Linked DNA regions of Homo sapiens: regions 1, 2, 3, 4, 6 and 7 are each linked to region 5. Evidence: promoter capture Hi-C in 16 types of primary human blood cells and fetal thymus (Javierre and others, 2016). All regions are on one chromosome and are shown on one strand. The core of a region is centred on a gene start or on the middle of the fragment in contact, and the rest is flanking DNA. Distances in the headings are between cores, read along the strand shown.

Region 1 (2,700 bases), core at 130-2,629, 2.2 Mb before region 5:
AATTATATGGAAAACATCTACCATTTGAATTATAAAGATCTTACTCTGAGGTGTTATAATCCTCAACATTTATTACTTATAGAATGAATATTAATTCAACATTTATTGAGTACCTACTTTATGCCAGGAATAGTTGTAGTCACTAGAAATGTAAAGATGATTAATATGTATTCTATACAGTTGAAGATGCCTCATTAAGCGGAGATTAGTGCACATGTAAATAATTAGGATAAGTGCTAGAGTAGAGGTAGTGTGGGAAAGCAGGAGAAAGTGATTCTACATGGAAAGCTAGACTTTAAAGGATTGGTCTAATTCCCTAAATGGAGAATTAGGATAATTCCGACATTTAGTGATACCATGAGTAGCTGTAGAGAAATGTTTGCTGTGAACATATGTGCAGCTTGTGTAGGGAGAGTGACTTGAACTTTAGTTTATAGATGCCCTTCAACTTGTGATGTAGTTATGTGCCAATAAACTTGTTGTAAGTTGAAAGTAACTTAAGTCAAAACACATTTATTACACCTAACCTGCTGAACATCATAGCTTAGCCTAGCCTACCTTAAATGTGCTCAATACACAGACATTAGCCTCCAGTAGGGCAAAACCATTTGATAGCACAGTGTATACTATTATGCAGTATTGGTTGTTTACCCTCGTTATTGAATGGCCGACTGGGAGCTGCAGCTTATTGCTACTGCCCAGTGTCTTGAGAGTGTTGTACTAGATATCACTAGCCTTGGAAAAGATCAAAATTCAAACTTTGAAGTACAGTTTCTAGTAAATTTTTATCTTTTTCTGGGCTAGCAAAACAGGTTAAGAACTCTCTCCTCTTCAGTGCTAGGCACTGCTGTGTGCTATTTTAATTGTTAAACAACCCTGAGTGATAGGTGGTATTTCCCCTATCTTACAATGAAGAAACTTAAGGTCAGAGAAATAATAAAAGTCATTTGCTCAAGGTCATATAATGCCATTAATATCTCCTTCAGTTATCTGTTTCTGTGTAATAAGCTATTCTTTAATTTTATGACTTAAAGCAATGATTTATTATTTTTCATGTTTCTTACGCGTCGACTAAGCTCAGCTAGGAAGTTCTACCTTGGGGAGTCTCCTTTGGTTGCAGTCAGATAGCAGCTAAAATTAAAGTACTCTGTAGGTTCAACCAGGCTGCACGTCCAAGATGGCTTCTTTATTTGTCTGTCTATCATCTCAGCTAGAATGGCTGGAAGAGATAGGGGCTGACTGGTCATCCCTTTCAACAGGGTCTCACCACATGATCAACTTGGGCTTACTCATTAAATTGCACAGCAGTCTTGGGCTTGCTGTATAGTATCTGACTTACCCTAGGAGGACTTGTCCAAGACAGCCAGGCAGCAACTGCAATGTTTCTGATGATTTAGGCTCAGAAATCACGTCTGGTCATTTCTGCTGCATCTGTGGGTTAAAAGTAAGTCACAGGGCCACCCCAGATTCAAGAGGAGGCGGCTACGTAAGGGCATGACTATCCAGAGGCCATCTTGGACACTAGCTTCTACCACATGCTGTGCTGTCTTTGGGAATTGCTTTCGGACAGGCTGGAAATAGATGGGTCTTACAAATGCCTGGCTGAAATGTGAAGAGGGTGCAAGAAAACATCTGGGGAACGTGAATGTCTGAGAGAAGACTCAAGGAAGAGGAGTCATTGAAAAAAAATAAATGACTAGAGACAGGAAGAAAACTTGGAGAAAGTGGTGCCACAGAAGCCAAATGGGGGGAGGGAGTCGCTGCCACCATAGCCATAGGTTCTTAGATTTGTTTTTCATGTTACAGTGGCCCTGTGGTTTTAAGGTACTCATAATTTACGATTACCCATTTAAAAAACTGACCTTTTTCCTTCCCATTCACTCCACTCCACACACATGCACCCAGTTGATGCCTTAAGTTCCAGTTAGAACCTCATTGATGTAATCCAATGTGAAACATTTATACTTTAAGTCATTTGTAAATTGTGATTATGTTTGGTCTACTTTACTGAGAGTAGGCTTGCCTAGGAATAGAGGAAATGTAGTGCCATGGCTTCCTAGAGAGGTGGTTGGAAAGATGAGAGTTGTCTCTAGAATAATGGCGATGGGGAAGGTGAGTATAATGGCACACTTCTGCTGGTCTTGCTAGGATGTTCTTTTGACTTCTGAGAAAGTATAAAGTGCCATGCACTGAATTATGCCATAGATAGAAGGGTGAGATACAGAGTATATTTTTTCCTATAATTAATCTTTTTTTTTCCTTTTTTGAAAAAAAATCACTGGTGTTTTCTCTATTTCAGAGCACAAAGTTATCATTGTTGGGCTGGATAATGCAGGGAAAACTACCATTCTTTACCAATTGTAAGTATTAACTATTTTAAAAATTATTTTATTTCTAGTTACTTTTTTGGCCTGGGTGATAGTCGATCAATGAATGCAGTAAGAAATTACATGAAACCTAAGTTACCCTGTAAGAAAGCAGGTTGGCTATAAACCTGGAGCCAGATCTCAGCAATAGTTAGTAGAAAGCAAGAAATTTATATGATATTGAGCATATAGTTGGCATTGAGTTGTCCACTTGTTTTGTGCTAAAGCTCTTTTGTTTGTAGAAAGTAGAAAAATATGGCCGGGTGCGGTGCCTCATGCCTTTATCCCAACACTTTGGGTGGCAGAGGTGGGAGGATCGCTTAAAGCCAGGACT
Region 2 (2,700 bases), core at 137-2,636, 2.6 Mb before region 5:
TTTTTGTTTTGTTTAATAAGATTTCTTTGATGTGTTCTGAGGGGAAAAAAGAAAATATCCTTAGGTCCCACCTCTTCTCCCCAGCTGGGCCTCAAGTGTTAGAGGGGTACAGGGATCTTGAGGTAGAGCCTGGTTGGAGTAGCCATTCTTGTAGAATTCCAAGGGGAAAGTGAAACATGGGGGACGGGGCCACAGTGGTTAGTGTTAACAGAGAAGATGTCATTTCCTTATTCATTGATTTCCAAGTCATGACTTGTCTGTTCTAAGCCTTAACTCCGGTTCTTGTTTGCATATCTTTTTTCCCTTTACTCAAGCCAGGCAATCTTTCTTGCCAGTTTTCTGCCTCTGTGCTATTTACCATTCATTGCTAAATGTTTGCTCTTTTCAACCTTGGTATTTCCTTTAAAGATACGCTTGTGTCCCACAAAGCTGAGCTCAAATTCTACCTCTACAAAACTCTGTGGACGCAGTGGTTTGAATTGTTAGCTTTTAAGAGAATACATTTCCAAGTGACATTTTAATGTGTGTATTGCTGTGTTTCTGACTTTTGCTGTGTTAGAAGAAGTTGACCAGGAAGTAGCTTGGGACTTTCTCCAGTGAAATGCAGTCATGCAGTCCTTTTCTCCAGTGAAATTTTATAAGAAATCCCAATATAAAAATAGATATTGATAGCATAAGAATAATATAAATTCATAACATACACACAAATTTATAACATTTACTTAACTAGGCCACTCTTTGTACAATAAGTTAAAATCTTTGTAAAAGTAAAAATTTTTTTAAAAAGTTTTTTGGTTTTGAATAAGAATAGTAGACTTAACAGCCAGTTTTTTTTCTAATATATTTTGTAGCTTTTTAAACTATGAAATATTTTCAGCATAAAATAGAAAATATGAACTCCCATTCCTGCCAGGCAATTATGTCAAGTGCTAATATTTTGATATACTTGATTCTTTTTTTTTAAGAAAGGAACATTCAAGATGCAGTGAAATACTTTAGTATTTTTAGCAGCTACCTGATCCCATTCTTCCTCCTTTCTCCGAGTTAAACACTCTATAAATAGATAGAAATTCTCTTTAATAGTATAATACTACACTTACAAATATACTATATATTGTTTGGATGTTTTTAAACTTCTTAAAAATGGTGTCTTTTTGTCATTCTGCAACTTTTGTCATCCAGCATTTCTTCTTTTTTGAGACGGAGTCTTGCTCTGTCGCCCAGGCTGGAGTGCAGTGGTGTAATCTCAGCTCACTGCAACCTCTGCTTCCCAGGTTCAAGCAATTCTTGTGCCTCAGCCTCCCGAGTAGCTGGGGTTACAGGTGCGCACCACCATGCTCGGCTAATTTTGCATTTTTTAGCAGAGATGGGATTTCGCCATGTTGGCCATGCCAGTTTCGAACTCCTGACCTTAGGTGATCTGCCTGCCTTGGCCTCCCAAAGTGCTGGGATTACAGGCGTGAGCCACCGTGCCTGGCCCATTCAGCATTTCTTCGTGAGAGTTATTCATGTTGATGTTTGTAGCTCTAGGTTATAAATTTTAATGGCTGCGTGATACTATACTACTATATGAATATGCATTATCTGTTGTCCTATTGACGAACATGACTTTGTTTTCAATTTCTTGCACCTACAGACAGCTCTGTATTGAAAGTTTTTATCTATGTTTTCTTGTGTTTATGGGTGCAAGATTCTTTTTTTTTTTTTTTTGAGACGGAGTCTTGCCCTGTCACCCAGGCTGGAGTGCAGTGGCGCGATCTCAGCTCGCTGCAACCTCCATCTCCCAGGTTCAAATGATTTTCCTGCCTCAGCCTCCCAAGTAGCTGGGATTACAGACGCCTGCTACCATGCCCAGGTAATTTTTTTTTGTATTTTTAGTAGAGACGGGGTTTCACATGTTGGCCAGGCTGGTCTCGAACTCCTGACCTCGTGATCCGCCCGTCTTGGCCTCCCAAAGTGCTGGGATTACAGATATGAGCCACTGTGCCCAGTGGAGTGCAAAATTCTTAAAGGTTGTCGTCTTGAAGGGGAATTCTTCAGTAGAAGTGTAGCTCTTGGCCTGGTGTGGTGGCTCATGCCTGTAATCCCAGCACTTTGGGAGGCTGAGGTGGACAAATCTTCTGAGGTCAGGAGTTTGAGACCAGCCTGGCCAACATGATGAAACGTGTCTCTACTGAAAATACAAAACTTAGCTGAGTGTGGTGGTGAATGCCTGTCATCTCAGCTACTCGGGAGGCTGAGGTAGAAGAATCACTTGAACCTGGGAGGCGGAGATTGTGCCACTGCACTCCAGCTGGGGCAACAGAGTGAGACTCCATCTCAAAAAAAAAAAAAAAGTGTAGCTCTTGCAAAGTTGCCCTTCCAAGTGTTTGTTGATTTCCCTCCTGTCAGCAGTGAAATTCCTGTTGTTCCACATCCTCACTAATGCTGAGCATTGTCAGATTTTCTAATTTATGCCTATCTGATGAATATGAAGTAAGACATTGTTTTCATTTCATTTTCTATTTCTACTTCATTGCCAGTGAAGATGAGCATTTTTTCATATGTTTCTTCATCATTCTGTTTTCTTTTTCTATAAATTGCCTGCTCATTACTTTTATTATTCTGTTGGGTTACTTTTTAAAAATTGATGGCAGGGTGCAGTGACTCACACCTGCAATCCAAACACTTGGTGGATTGCTTGATCTCAGGAGTTCGAGA
Region 3 (2,764 bases), core at 235-2,734, 2.4 Mb before region 5:
GTCTAAGTGTAGGAGGTAAACATGCATATTGCATGGAGGACTGAAACAAATGTAGAGATTGCAGGTCATTAAAATAAAGCCCATGCTTTCGTATATGCAAATCAAGCATATTTTAAAAATAGAGATCTGTGACATGCTGGTATCTCTTTGAAAGGAATATTGCACTTCTTGTCCAACTTAAAACCAGGGAATTTTAGAAAAATTGTAGCAATAGGGATTATTCTTGATTACTGCTGATGTTTTTATATTGTGTTTGACTAAATTAGTTGCTTTTTGCAAAGCACTCTGAAGCACTTCGCTTTTATATCATTGGAGACATGGATTGTGTCCTTTGTGAAATAGTTATTGGTTTCACATTCCCTCCACCACTTCTCCTTGATGGCTACGGGCTGAGTATGATTCATCTCTGTCCTTCACTCATGGTATAATGAATGGTGAACAGTAAACAAACAGGGCTTATTTGTAGGAGTGAAATTAAGGGTAGCAGTTTGAGTGGTGTATATTTGGTTGAAGATGATGCAGAGGTGGTTGAAGGGGAGAGATGCAAGTAATAGGCAATAAGCCGATTGCCAAAGAGAGGAGGAGAGAGGTTCTTTGTTTCCCCAAGGCTTACTTGATGAGCTCATGTGCAGTCACTACAACTGTGAAGGAACTTATCTGTAAATGTGCTTTTTAATACAACTTTGGATGCTGGATCAAAATGACATGTTTAAAGATTAGACGCTTATACTTCTTGAATGTATATAGCCTTGACTTTAAATACCTATTCTAGTAGAGAAAATCTTTTCAAGAAGAAGATAAAACGTAAAAAGCCAATGTTCAGCAAGATAAAAGAATAAGCTGTATCCTTTCTTAAGAGTTAGATGTGAGAGTTGAATTAAGAAAGAAAAAAAGAAACATCAAATTACTTTTAGCTTTTCAGTTTTCTTCCTTTCATGTTTAAGATTCAGTGTCTAGTTCCTTGTGAGTTGTCTCCAATTCTGTGAAGTCTAAATCTAATGGTATTTTTATCCTTGATAAAGCATCATTGATTTACATACGTATGAGAAGGGGAAAAAGAGACATTGTTTTATTATTTAGAATGAATGTCAAATATTTATGCAAGTTTTGACAGTATTTTCAAAAGCAAAATATTTTCATATGAAGAGATTTTTCACCATGTTTTCACCAATAGTCTACTGAAATTTTGAGGCAAATCAAATGTTAAGAGATTATGGGTTGATGCAATGAATATGCCTGTTTTTATTGAGTCAAACTTTGGCTGCCAGAAGGGTAACATTACTCCTTATTTGAAGTTTTAACCCTTTGAGTATCTGACCTATAATTTTTTTAAATTTGAAATCATTCTAAAATGGATTATGTGTTTTTCTGCTTGCTTAAATATAAGGTAGAGAATATAGTTTGAAAAAAAATTGTTTTAATGTTTCAGAGTTATGTATTTATTTATTTTGAGATGGAGTCTTGCTGTGTCACCAGGCTGGAGCGCAGTGATGCAATCTCTGCTCACTGCAACCTCCGCCTCCCGGGTTCAAGCGATTCCCCTGCCTCGGCCTCCAGAATAGCTGGGACTACAGGCGCTCGCCACCACACCTGGTGTGGTGTATTTTAGTAGAAACGGGGTTTCACCACGTTGGCCAGGATGGTCTCAATCTCCTGACCTCGTGATCCACCCGCCTCAGCCTCCCAAAGTGCTGGGATTACAGGTGTGAACCACCGCACCCAGCTAGAGTTATTTTTTTCTTCAGTCTCTGTGCTAGTAGTTTCCGAGTTATTTTAAGCGTTGATTTTGGGGATAAGCCTTGAATGCAGGTGGAGGATATTAAATATTTACATTTATGTAAAGCACAATTTAGGTGCCCGAGGTTAGGTTTTTGCCTGCTTCCAGCAGTGTTTCAGACAAGGGAATGCCTTGTGCTTTCCTTTCCCCGGCTTCCTCCTCTGGGTGTGCTCTCAATTCTAACCCCGTTACCAGCATCGCCACCTGTTAATTATCACTGTTGGTTATGCTCTTCAACTTCAGTCTTTCCCTGTCCTCTGAGAACTTCTCCTTTGGCTTCATGGCACCAAAGTACATCCCATTCTGAAATCAAAAGAATAGTAAACACAAAAACCTACTAACTCCCCACAATTTCCTTCTCAAACTACTGCTGGATCTTTCTTTTCTTTCTTTATCATCAGACATCACAAAAGAGAAATCTTCTACCCATTTCCTTTATTTCCTCACGTCCAATTCACTTCTCAGACAGGAGCACCTGGCTTCTTGCCCCCTCACCCTATACTGAAATGCTCTCTGAAGCATCATCACAACTTCATTGCCAAATTGGAAGCCTTTAGAGAATGGCACTTATCCAGTTCTCACCCAGGAGCCATTAATGGGAGAAATCCTGGAAGAATAGGGGAAGAATGCCACCCACCATCTTGATCCCATCAAAACCCAAATGGACATAGAAATGCCTGATAGCCTCTTTCAATTAAACTGTCATGGCCCCAGCATCTCAAATCGATGCTGTTGGGTACTTCTTAGTCTGCAAAGGCTCTCCTTTCCCTAAAGGGTAGAGCCCACAATAAACAGGACTGGACCAGGATCTCTAGGTTCCAGAGACATTGATTTGGGAATGTACACATAGGCTGCAGGGTGAAAATCCTGGAAGTGGAGGCATAGAAACACAGTGGTTTTTCCTTGAGTTTTTAAGAGCTTCATCTGCTTCTGGGCCTTCTTTGCCCTCTCACTCTCATTCTGACTGCCTCTCAATCTAAAGATTCC
Region 4 (2,700 bases), core at 17-2,516, 2.5 Mb before region 5:
TTTATGTGGACATTTTCTCACTAGGAAATTGTCTTGAAAATACCAATTTGTTTCACAGAAAATATCAGCCAGGGGTTAATCACCATCATTTGGCACCGGCAGCATATGCATTTAGATGTGAACAAAGGACTACATTGTTAGATGAGTTGTAAAGGTTTTGCTAATCTTGAAAACTTCTTTTTAAATTTAATTAGCTGGCTGGAAACGGTGGCTCACGCCTGTAATCCTAGCACTTTGGGAGGCCGAGGCGAGTGTATCACCTGAGGTCAGGAGTTCAAACCAGCCTGGTCAACATGGTGAAACCTCGTCTCTACTAAAAATACAAAAATTAGCTGGGCATGGTGGTGTGCGCCTGTAATTCCAGTTACTCAGGAAGCTGAGGCAGTAGAATCACTTGAACCCAGGGGGCGGAGGTTGCAGTGAGCCGAGAATGTGCCACTGCACTCCAGCCTGGGTGACAGAGCAAGACTGTGTCTCAAAAAAATAAATGAATAAATAAAATAAAATAATACAAATAGATAAATAAAATTAATTAGCTGAAGAAAGTATCAGTGAAATGTGAGGGCATGAATAGACATGGCATTATATGCTTTGGTTCAATTATTATCTGAGCCAGATTTAATGATAGATATTTATAAATTTAAAGATTCTAGATGTCATTGAATTCTTTATAAAATGTAGGAGTTAAATACTGTGAGATAGGAGAATCATGAGCCTTCAGATTCAGCAGATGTATAAAATTCTACTTTTTAACTAGTATATGGGTTAGACCTCTTGGTATTTTTGATACTTAAAAAAACTCCCAGCTAATTTATTCAGAATAGCCCATAAATGAGACATTCCCATTTAGCCGCAATGAAAACTGGGGGCCATCACTTATCAGCCAGTACAATTTTTGTAGAAATAGAAGGTGGAATTAAAATTCTTATTCTTTTTGGATATAAAGTATACTCATTGCCTTAAGACCATTAAGTGACTTTAATCTTTGTCAACAAATTATGTCTTCGGTGTACACAAGAATCATATTGCCATAAACTTCTTCTTTTTTTCTGCATTCTCTATTTTAAATTCTTTTGAAAAATAGATGTTATTTTCCATATGGTCTGCTTCAGTGCTTACTTCATGCCTTCGACTATGTTTCTGAGGACTTACGTAGTTTTCCCTGAGCTTCGCTCTACTTTTCCAGGGTTGGAAGGAATACCTGCATTTCTGTGATCAGTGCTTGGTCCCACCCTACTCCCTTGCCTTGCCTGCCTGCCATGCACAGAGTGATCACTCATGTTTTATCAGATGTTTTCATTAAGACATAGAGCATATAACAAGGCTCTTATCCTCATAGAACAAATAATGTAGTTGGAAATGTAAGATAAAACCTATATGAAAACAAGAATATTCTAGGGCTCCATATGCTGCTTGGCAAGTGAACAGAGTAGGAGAAGTGTAGGCTTCCTCCAAAAGACTGGTCAGGGGAAGGTTTGGGTTCAGCATTGAGGGAATAGTAAGATTCTTTTTTTTTTTTTTGAGACAGAGTCTTGCTCTGTCGCCCAGGCTGGAGTGCAGTGTCGAGATCTCAGCTCACTGCAACCTCCGCCTCCCGGGTTCAAGCAGTTCTCTGCCTCAGCCTCCCGAGTAGCTAGGATTACAGGCACCCACCACCACACCTGGCTAATTTTTGTATTTTTAGTAGAGATGGGGTTTCACCATCTTGGCCAGTCTGGTCTTGAACTCCTGACCTCGTGATCCATCGGCCTCGGCCTCCCAGAGTGCTGGGATTACAGGTGTGAGCCACCGCGCTCGGCCCAATAATAAGATTCTTAAGTAGAGACCTCAGAAAACTATGTTTCTTGCTTTTTTTTAAATACAAGGAAATGTTTGCTTATACAGCTAAACCATTTTCTTTAAATGCTGTTTAATTATCCCTATATTAACTAAGCAAGCAATGACCTCAGTTCTGAATTACTGTATTATCTTTCCTCTATATCCGTCCAGAGCTCTAGCCAATGGGCCAGCAGGGAACATGAGGAAGTGTCACACCCTCTTGGGGTGGGGACATACAGGGCTGGGAAGAGAGGGGGAGATTTCCTGTCCAGAGTGTCCTGGGCTGGGAGGTGGAAGGCCTGAGGGAACTGTCCCTCTCCACCACTAACGTGTCCTAGCACCAGTCAGGGCCTCTGTCCCCATCTGTGTGGCCACAGCTGGTCACCCTCCTCCCAATCTCACATGCCATGAGTCTTTGAAAATGGCTGAGTTTGCAGCCTGTCCTGCTTTTATTGCCATGTCTTTTGTGGAAAGAGGAAAAGGAAGTCTCAGCCTCTGCTGTTAATGAGCTGTTATACGAGCCAGCAGGCTGCAGCAGAGTAGTGGGCCTTTCCTCTTCTGTGCCTCCAGCTGCTCACGCACACCTATCCTCTTCCATCTCCCAGCCAGACTCGGTGCTGAGGTAGAAGCCTGTGTCCCAGGTGCTCATCATCTCTGCTGAACACATTCATTATCTGCAATCAAGCTGCATTCCAGCTTCTTGCCAAACCCTTGTCTGTCAGTAGAAGCTGCATTGGGGATATACAGTCTGAATTTGGCTCATTAGGCCAAAGGCAAGCAGCAGAACTTGGAAAAGGCCGGGGAGGGCTGTTGCGTGGTTCTCAGCAACTTGTGCACACTCTGGTGTGAGAGTTACCAAACCCCAGAATTACAAGCTCACCA
Region 5 (2,700 bases), core at 197-2,696:
TATTTCCTTGCTCTGTCAGCTGAGAGTGTCTAGAAGCAACAACATCCCAAATGTCCAAATCTTGATTTCTAATATCATTTTCCATTAAAAGTACCCTTGGCTTTTTGGGGAAGCAGCTGATTCTAGGATTGGGGCAGGGAATATACAAGATGAGCCTGGAGCAACTTATAGAAATTAAGAAAATGCTCAAGAAAAAAAATCAATAAACATAAAACGAGGAGGGTTTGTCAAAAAGACACAAATGCCAACTAAAGGAAATCTCAATAGCCAAAGCTGGAACCAATATGAACAACAAAATAAAGTAGTATTGGATTATAACCCAAAATGTAAAATAAATATCCATGAGTCCATACTGACATAAATGATTGAATACATAAATAAATGCAGTACAGACAAATCTCCCATGCAGAAGAATTCCAAATAATTCATGAAGATATTCTGTCCTCATAAAGGTGGAGTATAACAATTTCCCATTCCTATAGTTTGGGCTGCACAGAGAGATGTCCTTCCAAATAGTATAGTATGGAGAGGAAAAGAAAAACAGTAACTTCACAGTGGAGAAACCTGACAAACCCTACATAGGGAGGTGGAAGGGCTTACTAGATGAAACAAAGGGGATCTTTGTAGAACTATAAAACTTTTCTGTATGACACTGTAATAATGGTGATAAAGGTTAGCATCAACAGTAATAAGTCATGTTGATAGTATATACCCTTGATGTGATGTGATGAGAAGATCACTTTACCTTACCTCTTAACTCAAGAAAAACCCATAACCTCAGTTAATGCATGAGAAAAATACAGGCAAAACCCAATTGAAGGACATTTGACCAAATGACCAATAAGTCGCTTCAAAACTATTAAGGTTATCAAAAACAAGGAAAGTTTGAGAAACGGTCACGGTCCAGAGGAGCCTGGAAGACATGGTGATGTACTCCGGACAGGATCCTGGAATGGAAAAGAATACCAGGTCGAAAACTAAGGACATCTGGAATAAAATATGGGCTTATGGGCTTTAATCAATTTTTAAAAAAGTATTAGATACATGAAAATGATACACGATTTACAAATCAATCGCCTAATATTTATCGAGCATATTGAGAGCCTGGCACTGTGGTAGGGCTGGGGACACAGAAAGAGGTAAGTGCCCTATGCTCAAAAACAGCGATTCATGAAAAATAAACAACTATGACAAAAAGAACAGAAGACTGTATCTCCTGGAGGCAGTAAGGAAGGCTTAAGTTGGGAGGACTATCAAACGCATCAAGGAGTTACTGAAGATTAACTGACCCGCCTAACGCAGGTCGGAAGCCCTCCTATCCATCCACCCAAATCACCCCTGCCCCACCTTTTCTCCTCCCTTGCGTTTACCCAATGGCAGGTCGGCTCCACGTAGGCCTACTTTGCGCGTGCGCATCATCGTTTCGACGCGCTCGGAAGCAACTTCCTTTGCCTGCTCACCGCCAGCGTAGGTGCTACCACCGCTGCCGTCGCCGCCGCCATTTTGATGGCAGGAAGAGTCCGGTTCTGGGACAGCTGGAGACAGTGGTGGTGACTGGTACGGATGGTTTCCGCCCATGTTAGCCCCTCCAAATTTGCCCGTGTTAGGGTTACAGCCCTCGGTATTGCCCGTATTTTCACTGGGTCCCTGTCGTTGTCCCCAGCCATCCTGTCCGTCTGTCTTTAGTCTCTTTTCTGCTTCCTCATCTTTCCGATCAGCCTGAAGCTTTGCTTGGAGCTGTTGTTACGCAGCCCCAACTTCTGTTAAAGCAGCCGCTTCGATCCTCTGGACTGAATTTTGGCCACCCAGCCCCCATTCCCCTCCCGGATCTGGTCCGAGTTGTTTTTCCGCGGCTGTAAACCGGAAGGGCTCTGAGCTGCACTGCCGGCTCCGGGCTGGGGGATCTGTGCCTGGCATGGGGGCGAGTTCTGGCCTCCTTAGGGTACGGGGAGAGCTTGGACTTTGGTCCTGACGTGGTGGACGACACACCTTCGAAGAGTGGACGTTACCTCAGTTGTCTGTTGTTAGAGTTTAATCGATCACTCGTCTGTTTTGTTGTGTTCTTTCCCAGAAATAACTTTACCAAAGGAAAGCTATTTTGCGAACTATCTTCTCCAGCGGAGATGGCCAATGTGAGTAAATTATCTCTTAAGAATCAGCATAGTAAACTCGTTTGGGAATGTTAGGAATGAAAGAACGGGTTTAATTATGATGGCATTGGGTGGTATAGTGTTAGATATAATGTATCAAAAATGTCAAGGGAAGCAAGTGGTGTGAAATTATGTTATGCTTTGAAGATGGTAGCATTCTTTGCACTGCAAATACACTTATTTATACAATTTCATTTGTACAGATGTGGAAATTCAAGCACCCTTTCGGTATTTTTTAAATACAGCGTTTCAGTAAATATTAGAATCTATGTTTAGGCCCTTTTTTAGCTTTTGGGTTAGCTAAACTGAAGGGTTTTTTTAATCTTTTTTTCTTTTTTTTAAAACAGTTTCCATATTGGAAGTGACCTTCTAAATCCTACAAAATAAGAATAGGAGATACTCTCACACACCAGAGATATTTATTGACTGTAACTTTGCAGTGATTAGACACATCCTATCTATAGAATTCATATGTAGCGGTCATAAGACATATATAAAAACAGCTACAATTAAAGTATAAAGTAATAATTTTTTTTAGAACCTACACGAA
Region 6 (2,700 bases), core at 50-2,549, 2.2 Mb before region 5:
GTGGTAAACTCTTTCTCTATTGCAATTCCCCTGCCTTGATAAATTGGCTCTATCTGGGAAGCCGGCAAGAACCCACAGGGTGTTTACATTACTATCTGTCTTCATGAAGGCAAAGGCTTTGATTTTCTTCATAAGCCCCATCATGCAGCTAGCACTTGGCTTAGTGACTAAACCCTCATAGGCACTCAACAGACATTTGAATAAACATGTCCTGGGCAGTGCTGTCCAATAGAAGTAAGATGTGTGCCACATATGTAATTTTAAATTGTTGAGTAGTTACATTCAAACGTAATAAGAAACAATAAAGTTAATTTTACTAATACATTTTAATTACCCAATATATCTAACATGTTACCACTGCAACATGTAATCAGTATAAAAATTATTGAGATATTTTACTTTTTTTGTGTTAAGTCTTCAAAATCCATCGTGTATTTTACATTCAGAGCACATCTCAATTTGTATTAGGTGCCTTGCAAGTGCTCCATAGCCTAAAGTAGCTAATGACTCCTGTACTGGACAGGGCAGGTCTGGAGCCTCCTAGTGTTCAATATATGCCAGTTGATAGATAATAGCACAATGCAAAGAATTGGAGAAAGAAAGTTTTATTCTGAAAGCTGCCGTACCCACTGGTTGATACGGTGACTATGAGACTTCATTCACCTGTTAACATCTGGAACAGCAGAAAGACCTAAAGTGCCCATGATGAATGAGTAAGGACACTGGACCAGGAGTGAGGTGAATATGCAAAAGCCTGTGTCTCCCAGAGCCCCAAAGAGACAGGAGAGCAGAGGACACCCAAAGAGCAACAGGCTTGTTGCACCAGTGGGAAGACACAGCAGGCAGCAGGCTTTGCTGAGGAGTCTGCCAACAGAGCATCTCAAAGTGCAAACCAGGCTGGGCACAGTGGCTCACTCTTGTAATCCCAGCACTTTGGGAGGCTGAGGTGGAAGGAGCACTTGAGCTCAGGAGTTCAAGACCAGCCCGGGCAACAAAGTGAAAAATCTTGTTGCTACAAAAAAATTTTAAAATTAGCCAGGTATGGTGGTATGTGTCTGTAGTCCCAGCTACTTGGGAGGCTGAGGTGGGAGGATCACTTGAGCCCAGGAGGTCAAGGCTACACTGAGCCATGATTGTGTCACTGCACTCCAGTCTGGCTGACAGAGCAAGACCCAGACACCAAAACATACCAAGGACTAAACTCTGACCATTTTTCTCTCTTGTCTAAATCCCTACCTAAGGGGTCAGAGAAGTCACACAGTACAAACAGAAAGTCTCAGAAGATGGATTTTATTTAACCCTATGTAACATGGATTACTTTCCAACTTGACTCTCATAACATCACATGACAGATGAAGAGGGAAACCAAAATGTTTTACCCCAAAAATATGTTTCATCACCATATTTAGAAATAGCTCTGTAAAGCTGTTTTTTTGGGGGGGAAATTTGCCTCTGTAAAGAATCTCCATTAACATAACTAGGTCTTTCCTCTACCAGGTCCTCCCAGTCTTGAAGAGATTAACTGAGAGTCTCGCACCTCTTAAAGGATTGAATAGGAAACATTTGCCATCTATGGTCTGAAAGGCCTGCCACCTATAGACTACTGGAAACTGCCTGCTTCACTGCATAGTAAGAACCTTGGAGCCACAACCCCTTATCTTAACCCAGACACTCCTTTCTATTGATCCCAGGTTTTTAGATAATAACTTAACTCTCAGCCAATCAGAAAATCTTTGAATCCACCTGTGACCTGTAAGTCCCCACCCTTCAAATTGTCCTGCCTTTTGGGACTTAACCAATGTATACCTCACATGTATTGATTGATGTCTTTTGTCTCCCTAAGACATATAAAACCAAGCTGCAACCCAACCACCTTGGGCACATGTTCTCAGGACCTCTTGAGACAGTGCTGTGGGCCATGGTCACTCATATTTGGCTCAAAATAAAACTCTTCAAATATTTTACAGACTTTGGCTCTTTTCACTGACAGTACTGTTCTGGGATTTGTCGTGGCAGGGTATGTGTCTTAGTCCATTTTTTACTGCTGTAACATTCTAACACAGACTGGGTAATTTACAAACAATAAAGATTTATTTCTCACAGTTCTGGAGGCTGGGAAGTCCAAGACCAAGGTGCTGGCAGGTTCAGTGTCTGGTGAGGGCCTGGTCCCTTAAGCCCTTTTATGAGGGCCCTAATCCTATCCGTGAGGGCACTGCCCTTATGACTTGATTACTTCCTGAAGGCCTCACCTCTCAACACTATCACATTGGTAATTATGTTTCAACATATGAATTTGGGGGGACATATTCAGACGCTAGCAATATGTAATGTAATTTTTTTCTTCCGATAATACTTTCTTTGGCTAATTTGTGGCTAGCATGCTTTCCATTGGGATGTTGGTACTAGCCAACTGGGCTGTCTACTGAAATGAGTTTGTCCCAGGTTTCTGGGTAGGAAACTGTCTCCTTAAAAGTGACTTTTAGGGGCCAGGCATCATGGCTCATGCTTGTAATCCCAGCAATTTGGGAGGCCAGGAGTTCAAGACCAGCCTGGTCAACGTAGCAAGACCCCATCTCTGCAAAAAATAAAAAATAAGTAAATTACCCTGGCGTGGTGGTACATGCCTCTGTCCCAGCTACTCAGGAAGCTAAGGTGGGAGGATCACTGGCCTGGGAGGTCATGGCTGCAGTGAGCTGTGAT
Region 7 (2,700 bases), core at 146-2,645, 2.2 Mb before region 5:
CATATAGATATTTTTAAGTGCAACATTTACATGATAACAGTACATTTTGTTTTCTTCATAGATTTAGACACATCAATTTGTAATTTAGGGTACTTACAAGGCACATATAAAATAATTTCCCATGCTGGAAATTCCAAATGACCAGTTCCAGTTGGAACCAATTTATAAACCAATTCCTGTTGGAATTTGGGTGAATTGACTAGAAAGTCTACTTGAGCATGTTGTAATCAACTGAAAAATCTGGGGGGAAAAAAAAAAAACTAATAAGAAAATCGAAATACCAATAGAAGCCAAATCCAGCTTTGGTATTTATTTGCTGGAAGCTAAATTTACACTTAAAGTTGGAGTGTATAAACATTTTAATATATGTTAATGTTGCCAGAATGACTTTTCAGACTTACCAAATGTATTGATAGTGCCAAAAAAAAAATCTCAGAAATCTTAATGCAGAAATTATATAGTCTCCTCAGATTTTAATATTTTTATTTCTTTCCTGGCACAGCTGTTGTATTCAAAGTGTTTTGCTTTTTGTTTGGTCAGTACTGTTAGCTCATTTGAAGTTGGCAAAAACAAATACAAACAAGCAAAAAACCTCAAATTTTTTTCAGCAGTGAGAGAGAATAGTAAAGAGAGGCCCAAGCATAGCTGGTTATGTGAAATATAAAATGGGGTGTTGTTCTCCCTTTAATCAATCTGAGCACAACTACATACATCCAGGAATCTGAAGTCAGATAGTAAGGATGTGGTACCAATCCTCCCGAGTGCAATGCTAAACACTTCCAGGTGGGAATTCATCTATTTCACTTAACACAAACGCAGGGTCTGTATTTCCTGCCAACAAGATTGAGTATCTTTCCATTGCTTCTCTCAGTCTCTGTCTTTGAATATCTGAATGTTCTGGCCCTTCAACAAATTCTTTAAATCATGCTAAGGAATTTCGTTTTATGTGGACACACTCAACTTTGATATTCAGGAGATGTTTTTACAAAATGACTAATTGAAAAAAGTTGAAACAAATGATTTTAAAAGCTTGCAGTAAAAAATAAACTCATAGATTCAGCAAATATTTGTTGACTAAAATTATAGCATTTTTAATGCAGAAAATTATAAAGAATTTGGAGATTGAGCTGCCTTATTTCTAATGAACACTCCTCTTCATCTTATTAAGTCTTCACAGTTTTTCCAGTGGCTATAATTATGGAATTGGTGACCTATGTTTTATATTATCAAGGAAGCCTTAGATTCACTCTGATCTAAGAAATTATTGAAATTGACCCTTTTTACACAAATGTCTTTAAAAAAAAAAACTTATTTCTAAATGTCCATAGTGCATGCATTTTCTAAAACCCCAATAAGTCCAGCCATAAAAGTTCTTTTCTGCTAGTACATGTCATGAAGCCTATTTTTGAAAATAATGATAATTAATTTTATAGTATCTTCTTTTCTCCCCAAGCCTTTCAGTATTCAGGCACTCAAAGCATGCACCAGTTCAGTAATCTTCTTGACCATGGAAATAAGTTCCACATTACTGATGAGTTATATATATATCTTGAACCCCATTACAACCTCACCACATCCCCCTGCATTTATGTTCAGTGTTTGTACCCCATTATGAACCTGTTTAGCTGATAATGAGGATACCTATAATTCTGTAAGTCATTTCAAATATTTGATACAATTAAAAAATATGGGCTTAGTAAATTTTAAAAGTTAACATGTGATACTGGCTTGTGAGATTCTTCTGTCATCTAGTGAAGCTTATAAAACTTTCAGTTAAGACATTTTAAAAGAGTTATATCCATTAGGCACTTTAATAAACATATAACCTGCCATTACTGAATACTTTGTTAGAACACAGAAGAGCATCTTCCAGCAAACAAAAATATATTTATTACATGTACAGCACATACTTGCATGAGAAAGAAAACATTAGCCAAAACATTTTTCTATATGCTTTACTGGTTTCTTGTTTATGCGCATTAAAGTATTTAATTGCAAAGAGTGCACCAAGGTGTACAAATTTAGACTAGACAGCTGTTCAGCTTTTTCTGTAGTAGCATTAGCAGTTTGGTCATTTAACTACTTTAAGATACTTACATTTTATGGCAGGTAGCTGTAACAGCATTTAAATATATTTCCTAGTCATCAAGATTACCATCTTCTTTCAACTTTTTAAAAGTCACTTGTTTTTAAAGGTTTTTCAAAGCCTTGTTTTTAGTCTTCCATGTCATGCCGATAAAGAGAGTCTCATTCAATATCTGTGCACAAAACCAATCTATCAATTACCATCAGATGTCCATACCTGTTTTGCTTTGCATTCTTATTCAAAAGCTGACAATCTTGGAAAGGGTATAATGTATATTTTATTGATGGATATATTTAAATGTTTACTTTAATTTGGAATATTCTTTCCCCTTCTTTCTGTAATAAGTTTATCTTCCTCAAATAAGGGGATATACATCTTATTTTTTTTAAAGACTTAAGAGTTTATTGTGTAAATGATACTTAAAATCTAGATATATACTAAATGAAAAGTTTTATTTTTGCCAAGCACACCAAGCACCTTTGAAAAATACATACTCCATACTTTGTTTTTAATTAATTTCATTTAAAGATAGCAAATGATTATAAGCAAGAGAAACAAGTCTTTTACTGTTTTGAGGCTGTTTTAACTTACAGTATAAGCCACATACTAGAATT

The links. Contacts are between HindIII fragments. The CHiCAGO score rates a contact against its expected background, and 5 or more counts as called.
Region 1: a contact is called between a fragment that was not itself captured here and the fragment with the promoter of MMADHC in region 5, in 1 of 17 cell types (naive CD8 T cells). The highest score is 6.6, in naive CD8 T cells.
Region 2: a fragment that was not itself captured here is called in contact with the fragment with the promoter of MMADHC in region 5 in 5 of 17 cell types (non-activated CD4 T cells, naive B cells, naive CD8 T cells and 2 more); the score reaches 6.7 in non-activated CD4 T cells.
Region 3: a fragment that was not itself captured here is called in contact with the fragment with the promoter of MMADHC in region 5 in 2 of 17 cell types (naive B cells and total B cells); the score reaches 6.1 in naive B cells.
Region 4: a fragment that was not itself captured here is called in contact with the fragment with the promoter of MMADHC in region 5 in 1 of 17 cell types (total B cells); the score reaches 6.1 in total B cells.
Region 6: a fragment that was not itself captured here is called in contact with the fragment with the promoter of MMADHC in region 5 in 1 of 17 cell types (total B cells); the score reaches 5.7 in total B cells.
Region 7: a fragment that was not itself captured here is called in contact with the fragment with the promoter of MMADHC in region 5 in 4 of 17 cell types (naive CD4 T cells, total CD8 T cells, non-activated CD4 T cells and 1 more); the score reaches 7.4 in naive CD4 T cells.

What each region holds. Positions count from the first base shown.
Region 1 is chr2:151,814,799-151,817,498 of GRCh38, reverse strand. It overlaps ARL5A (ARF like GTPase 5A), which reads left to right. Exons shown (of 6, transcript NM_012097.4): 2 at 2,300-2,360. Among named protein-coding and RNA genes, the nearest start is that of ARL5A, 12 kb to the left of the region's middle. The HindIII fragment of the contact is 9,623 bases long and covers 1-2,700 here.
Region 2 is chr2:152,169,493-152,172,192 of GRCh38, reverse strand. The region is part of intron 1 of STAM2 (signal transducing adaptor molecule 2); the gene reads left to right. Among named protein-coding and RNA genes, the nearest start is that of STAM2, 4.9 kb to the left of the region's middle. The HindIII fragment of the contact is 4,391 bases long and covers 1-2,700 here.
Region 3 is chr2:152,019,932-152,022,695 of GRCh38, reverse strand. All of the region lies in intron 2 of CACNB4 (calcium voltage-gated channel auxiliary subunit beta 4), which reads left to right. Among named protein-coding and RNA genes, the nearest start is that of CACNB4, 78 kb to the left of the region's middle. The HindIII fragment of the contact is 8,232 bases long and covers 1-2,764 here.
Region 4 is chr2:152,038,237-152,040,936 of GRCh38, reverse strand. The region is part of intron 2 of CACNB4 (calcium voltage-gated channel auxiliary subunit beta 4); the gene reads left to right. Among named protein-coding and RNA genes, the nearest start is that of CACNB4, 59 kb to the left of the region's middle. The HindIII fragment of the contact is 4,970 bases long and covers 1-2,700 here.
Region 5 is chr2:149,586,521-149,589,220 of GRCh38, reverse strand. MMADHC (metabolism of cobalamin associated D) reads left to right here and starts at 1,446. Exons shown (of 8, transcript NM_015702.3): 1 at 1,446-1,557; 2 at 2,072-2,132. The coding sequence starts at 2,124. It overlaps MMADHC-DT (MMADHC divergent transcript), which reads right to left and starts at 1,863. Exons shown (of 3, transcript NR_110240.1): 1 at 1,371-1,863. RefSeq lists enhancers at 1,400-1,719, 1,036-2,235. The HindIII fragment of the contact is 5,011 bases long and covers 1-1,727 here.
Region 6 is chr2:151,775,525-151,778,224 of GRCh38, reverse strand. No RefSeq gene overlaps it. Among named protein-coding and RNA genes, the nearest start is that of NEB, 42 kb to the right of the region's middle. The HindIII fragment of the contact is 5,424 bases long and covers 1-2,700 here.
Region 7 is chr2:151,836,225-151,838,924 of GRCh38, reverse strand. CACNB4 (calcium voltage-gated channel auxiliary subunit beta 4) reads left to right here. Exons shown (of 14, transcript NM_000726.5): 14 at 1-2,700. Among named protein-coding and RNA genes, the nearest start is that of ARL5A, 9.2 kb to the right of the region's middle. The HindIII fragment of the contact is 728 bases long and covers 1,032-1,759 here.